3 separate regions of the Homo sapiens genome follow, and all the other regions are linked to region 3. The links are contacts of gene promoters, found by promoter capture Hi-C in blood cells and fetal thymus (Javierre and others, 2016). All regions are on one chromosome and are shown on one strand. The core of a region is centred on a gene start or on the middle of the fragment in contact, and the rest is flanking DNA. Distances in the headings are between cores, read along the strand shown.

Region 1 (2,700 bases), core at 194-2,693, 1.0 Mb before region 3:
TGAAATAGGATCAAAATGATTCTCATAAAGGAGTTTTTCTTTGGCTTTCTTTCCTTTTAAATTACTCATTGGTACCCAGAAGATGTCTTATGAGTGACTATCATTGGCTGCCATATTGCCAACACCATTTACCATTTTCTTCTCTCCTATTTCAATCTGCTGTGTTAGTGCCTCACGGCTTTGTCAAAATTTGCTGACGCTTTTGTCACCGCTGAGCCACAGGGGACCTCATCCACAGGTCTCTGGCTTGAGGTGCCACTAGTGCCCATGAGTGTCCCTACTGCACTAGTTGCACAAGTAACATTAAATATACAAGTAAGACAGGTATATAAACAAAGTGTAATAGGATTGCCTAGTAGAAACCTGTTAGTTCTGCTCAGCGAGGAAAAATTGGAAGGGTCACAGAGTGCTCTCTCTAAAAGGACACATTTATTTTTCAGTATAAATTACAAGTAGGATGTCAACAAATAGAAAGGGGAGAAAGGCATCCCAGGACTGTGGAAGTATATGGACAGAAGCACAGAGATGTAAGATGTCATAACATAGTCTAGGAAAAGAAAATGAGGCCCCCTCTCAAAAGTAACATCAAAGTGTTGAGAATAACAAAAGAATTTAGTACAAGGCCATATGATGTCTATAAAAGATGGGGTATGCATATTCACTTTTCTACAATTCTACTTTCCTACAGTAAAATGAGAGGTGGAGTTGATGGTATTTCTCTTCTCGTTAAACAATAAAAAGGATTTAAATTAAAATCCCTTTTACATTAAAATAGAATTTGAATTAAAATCCTTCTGAGTGAAGTCCTGGATTGGAGATGGTGGGGCGGGGTTTAGAGAGTAACGGAGCACATTAACCAAACGCCTGAACAAGTAACCTCTAAGGGCTCCAAAACCATAACTACCATAAGCAAACTTCACCTGGTGATAGTAAGAAAAAAATTTTTTTGAGGCAGGGTCTCACTCTGTTGCCCAGGCTGGAGTACAGTGGTGATCACAGCTCATTGCAGCCCTGACCTCCTGGGCTCAAGTGATCCTCCTGCCTCAGCCTCTCAAGTACCTGGGACTACAGGCATGTGCCACCATGCCCAGCTAATTTTTGTATTTTTGGAGAGATGGGGTTTTGCCATGTTGCCCAGGCTGGTCTCAAACTCCTGAGCTCAAACCGCCTGCCTGCCTCAGCCTCCCACAGTGCTGGGATTACAGGCGTGAGCCACCATGCCTGACCAAGTAAATATTATCTAAGTTCAGTTGTCTGAGAATTTACCTTGAAGAGTCTCTGCCATGACCAAAGAATGTTTTTTATAGTAATTAGTATATTTGTTAAATTGGATTCGAAATACCACTATGTTTTCCAAAATGGTAAGTAGTTTTGGTTGGAGATTCTGATTAAATTCACAAAAACCACTCGGGCTTCATTCTAAGGGATAACAATTTGTGTTGAGATTCATGCTCCTGCACACACACAGCCTTTACCTAATGTTGATGGTGCCAGGAAATCACATGCTTACATTAAGTAAAGGCTGTGCATGAGCAGGAGCATGGGCAACATGGTGAAATCCTATCTCTCCAAAAATACAAAAATTAGCTAGTATGAAGGAGGACAACTCGATTGTCACCTTTTTAAAATATTTTATGTCAAAAAGATAGTTTGCTTTATTGAACTATAGATTCTTATGGGTATCTTTGTTTATACTTCCTCCACTACCTCCCCAAACCACTCAAGAGGAGCATGCACACTGTTTTATAATCTCCGCCAACTACTCCAGCAATGTTGTTCTTGTTTGGGTTTTTCTCTTTTTCTTTTTAGTGTAGATCAGTTGTGCTCTATATTAAAGCTCTCAGAGGGTAGAGTCTAGCATGCCACTATTTGAAAATAGACCATGAATTAATGCTTTTAAATGATGATGATCATAACAATGCTGTCTCGTGTTCCACATACTGACTTTGGTTAGGCAGTGTAAAAAAAAAAAAAAAACAAATGCACCTTTTGGAGCAGCAGAGGACTTGAAAACCTCCCAGAAATTTCAGAGACAGACTTCTCTGCTCATGTGTCCCAGAGAATTTCTCATTGCTATTAAGTCATGCCTCTGGTTGAATAAAGGGATTTTCTATACGCTAAATATCAGTGTGTAGGAAGACTGCCCCTGGAGACACACTGGGAATTGCTGCATGTCAGTTTCATTCTCTTTCAGCCTTACCTTTCTCAAGCCCTCCTCTCTGACAGACCTACAGATTCTCACAACATAACACTTTGCACAACAAAAAGAAGACAATAAATAACAAAAATAGGGTTGAAGACTACTATGTATTAGGGTCTTCACTAAACAGTTTCCATAGAGATGACATTTGTTCATCACAGTAACTCAGCAATCCCTAAGTTAAAGACACAGAAACAGGCTTTGAACAGGTTAAGGAAATTTCCCAAGGTCACAGGACAAATATGCAGTAGGACTGAGATTCAAACCAGGTTGACTGGCTTCAAAATCCATGCTCTTCAGCATAACACTCTTAGTTTCCTTCATTTAACAAAGATGGTCTGTGACTGGGGAAGATGGAACAGGGGCTTATCACTGTGGACCTTAGGGGCTGTTGTTATTCCATATTCTTTCCAGTGACATGAATAATGAACATAGAGATTAGCTCAAAAGACATCTGGATCATGCTGTATTAAGACAATTATCATAATATCTTGAAAGAT
Region 2 (2,700 bases), core at 121-2,620, 1.0 Mb before region 3:
AGAATGTCATGTAATTGGAATCATAAAACTGTGTAAGATTTTCCCTCTGGTTTTTAGGTAATTCTTTCCCCAGCTTGGGCAGTTTCTTCACATGCATATCATGCTCAGTACTCAGCTGAAGAAATGAGGGTGGGATTCTGTTGCTTTGGGGGACTTCTTGTCTGTGCAGGCCTCTCCTTTCTGACTCTTTGCCTGAATACTCTAGCCTCTTGGACATTTCCAAAGTCACAAATCTTGTCTGTTCTACTTTGGGAGATAACTGGGCAATTCCTGCATTTTCCTTCCCTGTGCAGAGGCCTGGAAACCTTTGCTGGGGTAATCATGGGGATCATCTAATTTTGTATCCATTCTCTTGGAGATCACTGCACTGTTTGATGTCTAATGTCTGAAAACTATTGTTCATTATATTTTATCTTTTTTAAAAGGCAGTTTTTTAGGTGGGAGGGTAAATATAGTCCTAGTTTCTACATCTCTGTGAAAATGAAAATCATGTTAATTTTTAATAGAGAAAAGATTCTTCAATTTTAGATAATTAAACATTATTTGGAGGGAGGGCTTTTAACTCCTGGTCTCTACTTCATAGAGATCTACTTAATCAGGCTGTCTGGCAAAATTTGGGTATTGGCATTTTTACATGACTTCCTGAAGTCCTGGTGCAGATTGTCAAAGTATTAAAATTTAAGAAACACCTATATCTTAGTCTGTTTGTGTTGCTATAAAGGAATGCCCAAGGCTGGATAATTAATAAAGAAATGAGGTTTATTTGTCTCGTGGTTCTGCAGGATGTACAAGAAGCATGGCGCCAACACCTACTTCTGACAAGGGCCTCAGGAAGCTTCCACTCAGGGGGGCAGCCAAGGGGAGCCAGCATGTGTAGATCACATGGTGAGATAGGAAGCAAGACGGGGAGGAAGTAGCCAGGTTCTTTTTAACAATCAAGTCTCAGGGGAACTCTCACAGGAAATAATAGAGCGAGAACTCACTCACTACCACGAGGATGGCACCAAGCCGTTCATGAGGCATCGGCCTCCATGACCCAAACACTTTCCATTAGGCACCCCCACTCCAACATTGAGGATAAAATTTCAATATGAGGTTTGGAGGGGCAAATATCCAAATTATAACAACAAAGACAAGTAACTTAAAAGGAAGTTGGACTGAAAAATCAGAATCCCTTTGTGGAAGCTTTTATATAAATAATGAGAAACTATTTTAGGTTTTCATAACGTCCAAGAGAAGTTTTATAAGACTATTCTGTCAGCTTTTCAAATTAAGGCCAATATTACCCAAGTGTATACTCTTTAGCCGTAGATGAAAAGAAACCCCTAGGAACAAATGAAAGTTTAAATGAAACTGCTCATTTAAATTAAGAATGTTAGTGGCACTTTGATTACATGTGTTGCTCAATCAAAATGGAAGGCTATTTTTTTTTAGCTTCATTTAAAAAACTGCCAGGACAATATAGCTGCCTTTAATTACACTCTTCTTTTGATGGGCTTTTATATATTTAATTCTACTTCTCTATTACCAGTGCTTAAAAGAAGAAAAAAGCTTTAAAACCTTTCTGATGAAAGACAGCTAAGATAAAAGATTTCATCAACAATCAACTATAAAAATTATTAACATGAGCCCATTCAGTTATGAAATAATGAAAATACATAGATCACAGTTTGTTTCATGGCTCATGTCAGTGAGTGAATACATTGCACAGACAGGAATATTAAGAAACTCAGACAGAGGCTCTGATAACACTCATTAATTAAATGAAAGGTCTCTGCTTCAACTCGGTTGCTCGACATTTTCCTCTCCTCTGTCAGCATGTTTGTTTCAAAATAACTTTTCACAGACTTGATAGATTCTGACAAAACTTGGAACACTCCAAGATTTACCCATAATCTCAAGTCTGAATTCTCATTCAATCGTGAAACAAAAATTGTTTCTGTTTTATTTACAGAATGGAGAAAACCATCACCATAAGATATTACTATGAAGTTATGTAGTTTTGTAGAAAACAGAGATAAAGATGCTGTAATAATTTCAAGTCTATAATTTGTGGCATCAGCAGTATTTCAAACAACACCGCAATTTTTCTTCTGCCCAAATGAATATGGTCTTTCATCTTGCTCATGCAGCTCATCTGTATACCACCAATCAGTTTGCTAGACCCTTGATAACTTTTTAAGAAGACTGACCAAGTGTGTTAAACTTCCCGGAGGTATCAAATTTAATCTGAGTTGAATCTGTGGCTCACTCCATTTTTTTATTTAAAATTGTAATCAATATAATTTGTCAAAGCTTGTCATTTATACTTTCAAATACATTTTTGTTAAATTTGATATATGATCAGAGTGACTAGATTATAAATGAATTTATCAAGAAAAAAGCTGAATCTGCAAATATTAACAATTATATATACATTGGCCCTAGGCAAAAAATCACCACTAATGAACATCATGAAACAATTTATTATTACTCAAAAGACTTCTGTGAGGCAGATTAAAGCCTTGGCATCATAGAAGGTCAGAATCAAAAGAACCCCAAAGGGTATTGTGAAATCACATATCTGATCTTTGGATTCCTTGCACTGCATCTCTGACAAACTCAACTTGGGCTTTAATGTCTCAGTGACTTGCACCTCACTTCTTTTGAAGCAATTTATTCTGTCTTTAGCGAGTTTGAACTAACGTTGATCTTAAGTCG
Region 3 (2,907 bases), core at 287-2,786:
GTCCAGAGCTGCCTACTTTCAGGAGCCAAAAACTTGGCCAGCCAAGGGCAGGCATCTGGCTGGCTGGCACCAGTCCAGGAGATCAGGACTGGGACACTGCACATTCATATTCTCTCTCTCTCTCTCTCTCTCTCTCTCTCACACACACACACACACACACACACACACACACACAGAGACATATCTGAAGAAGACTCTTCAGATATGTTTCAATTGTCAGGAGTTTGCGAGGTGCTCAAGTGCTTGACCTTTAAGAACCGGTTCTCAGAGACCCCCATTTCCTAAAGACCTTCTCATCTCACATTGGTTTGGGTTCCTCCCAGGAAACCGCCTCCTCTCTGGGCCTCCTGCTTCAGTTTGGGGGAAGCAGAACATTGCCCAGGAAGTAGGGAAGGGTGAGGAAGGGTGTGAGGCCCACTTTTCCCATGGGAGGATCCCATCAGCTTGATGCATATCTATACACTCCTCCCTGAGGCAGTTCCTCCAGAGGTTAGCAGCCCGCCCTGTTCCTGGAGAAGTCTTATCCTCACCTAACTACAAAAAGATTTAATAAAGAAACACACCCTTTCCTATTGTTACTTGGGGTTTGAAGGCATTACATCTTTTTTTCTTTTTTGCTACCTTGAGGTCAGCTGGCAACAGCCTCCTCTCAAGTCTCAGTCCAGGCGAGCGATGAGAGCCACATTCTAATGGAATCCAATGAGAGCATTACTTGAGCTGATTATGCAACGTCTCTTTGTAAACATTGAAAAAAGTTTGGAGAAGAGATGGGATGAGTTTAGTTGTTTGGTTCCAGGGGATTTTAGAGACATAGCTTGCAGCTACAGATTGGTAAATGTGAAATCTGGATGCTTATTGGTAATAAGAGAATTCCCAAGCCCAGGTGCACTGTTTAAAGTGCTATAGATTCATATTTGGTTTATAATGTATATCTGTTTGCTGTTTGGGTTAAGGAGGAAAGAAGAAAGAAGGATGAAGAGGCTAAGCATAAATGCTATTTACTTTTTTCTAAGCTATGACAGGAGATATACATTAACTGGGTATTCAACTGAATTTAAGAGTAATGCATTTAAAATTTTTTCAACCTCTTTTAAAATTTGATATACTGTAATAAACTGCCACTGGGGATGGGAAGATGGAAGCCTGGTGCTCATGGGCTAGGCATTTGTGTAGGTGTAGATCTTATAATGCTAAACATGGAAATACTTCAGATTAGAGGCAGGCCTTCCCATTTGCTAAGGTGCATTTACATGACAGCAAGGCCTAAGCAAACATTTAGCTTCTATTGGCACTTGTTCTATTTCTAAACCTTAGAAAAAAGGTGTGTGTGTGGGCTGGGGGGACGGGGGGGGGAGGGAGGTGGTAGGGGGTGCTCTTGCTGTGTCTCATTTGCAGTCATGCATCCTCTGCATTATTATGATGGAGATTACTCAGTTATGTTAGGAACTAGATTATGATGTCAGAAAATATCCTTTCCAAAACAGGCAAAAAGTCAGGGTCCTGGGTATATATTGAGGAGAATTTCTACGGAAAGTAATAAACAGGGCAGCTTGGAAGAGGTACCTGCTTTCTAATAATTGCCTTTAGTGGGAACAGAAGTCTCCTTTCAAGAAGCTTTTAATTCATTTTAAGATTTAATTTTATGTTTTCTGAAGAACAACAAAAAATATTTCTGGAAAAGACTGCTGAGAAGATTTCCCTCTTTCAGCCAGAAGAGCAGAGAGAAGATTGTAAATCAAGGAAAAGGTGAAGTAATAAATTAGGAGGGAACTTTGGTATTCCGAGTATATAAAGACTATTTATTTTTCCTGTGTCTATATTTTCTCTTTTTGTGGAGGAGAGGAAATTCTAAAAATATTTGATAGATGTTTTGCCATTAACACCAGAAAAGTGTGTGGGGAAAAAGAAAGGAGGGAAGGAGTGGGGGGTTAATTTTGTTTAATTAGTAGAAAAAGCAACATAAATCAAAGCAGTCTATTGATGCCAGTCCTTAATTTATAATGTTCTGAAAGTAAAGTGAATTTATTTACAACATAAGTGATTTGATAATTTCAATCTGATTTTTGTTTTAACCTTCTATTGGGAGAAGGGTTGACTTTTTAAAGCCTGGATAGTTTGAAACTTGGCTAGGTACCTTGGACTTTTTATTGTGGAAGCAAATATTATCATTTCAATGTTAAACAACTTGCAAGTATTAAATGGCTCATTTGTGATTGACTTTTTTTTTTTTTTTTTTTTTTTTTTTACAGATTTCCCCCTTCAGATCTAACGATTACATTAGGGCTCCTGCATCTTTTTGGAAGGATTCTTTTTATAAATCAGAAAGTGTTCGAGGTTCAAAGGTTGACATTTCTGAGTGCTGATACTTTGTCCTTTCATACTATCCAAACAAGTCTAACATTTAGAAATCCTTACACATTCAAGGGAAGTTGTGGAAATTCCCAGAGAGAGAGTGTGTGTGTGTGCGTGTGTGTGTTTTGGTTTTGTTTTGCTTTTTTTCTTTGTTAGTGAGAAGAAGCCGAGTCTTTTAAGGTACGGGGTTTACAGTAATGAACTGAGGAAGGCAGGAGCTTCTAAGAAAATATGCCCCCCCACCCAACCTAAGCAGTAAACTTTAACTGCTAGCTAGCTGCAGTGAACCAGTGGGAGCCCCGATGAGCGAGGGTCTCGGTGACAGCGTGCTATTTCTCCCACCCTGGGTAAAATATGTGGAGCATCACCCGGAAAGTCGGGCTTGATAAAGGCCACATTCCTTGAATCATCTCAAGAATCTAAATCACACTAGCCTTCTAGAAACTAATGAACCCTACCAGCAGGATTGCCTAGAAGACAAATATCCCTTGAATGGTTCCCAGTCCACTCGCGCTCTTTTCAAAAAGTTAGAGGAGCCCTGGGGAGGGTATCCAC

Evidence for each region. Contacts are between HindIII fragments. The CHiCAGO score rates a contact against its expected background, and 5 or more counts as called.
Region 1: a contact is called between a fragment that was not itself captured here and the fragment with the promoter of PTHLH in region 3, in 1 of 17 cell types (M1 macrophages). The highest score is 5.8, in M1 macrophages.
Region 2: a contact is called between a fragment that was not itself captured here and the fragment with the promoter of PTHLH in region 3, in 1 of 17 cell types (M0 macrophages). The highest score is 5.8, in M0 macrophages.

The regions. Positions count from the first base shown.
Region 1 is chr12:28,984,377-28,987,076 of GRCh38, reverse strand. No RefSeq gene overlaps it. Among named protein-coding and RNA genes, the nearest start is that of FAR2, 160 kb to the left of the region's middle. The HindIII fragment of the contact is 5,574 bases long and covers 1-2,700 here.
Region 2 is chr12:29,004,135-29,006,834 of GRCh38, reverse strand. No RefSeq gene overlaps it. Among named protein-coding and RNA genes, the nearest start is that of FAR2, 140 kb to the left of the region's middle. The HindIII fragment of the contact is 366 bases long and covers 1,188-1,553 here.
Region 3 is chr12:27,971,362-27,974,268 of GRCh38, reverse strand. PTHLH (parathyroid hormone like hormone) reads left to right here and starts at 1,536. Exons shown (of 6, transcript NM_198965.2): 1 at 1,536-1,746; 2 at 2,250-2,342. The HindIII fragment of the contact is 3,977 bases long and covers 1-1,616 here.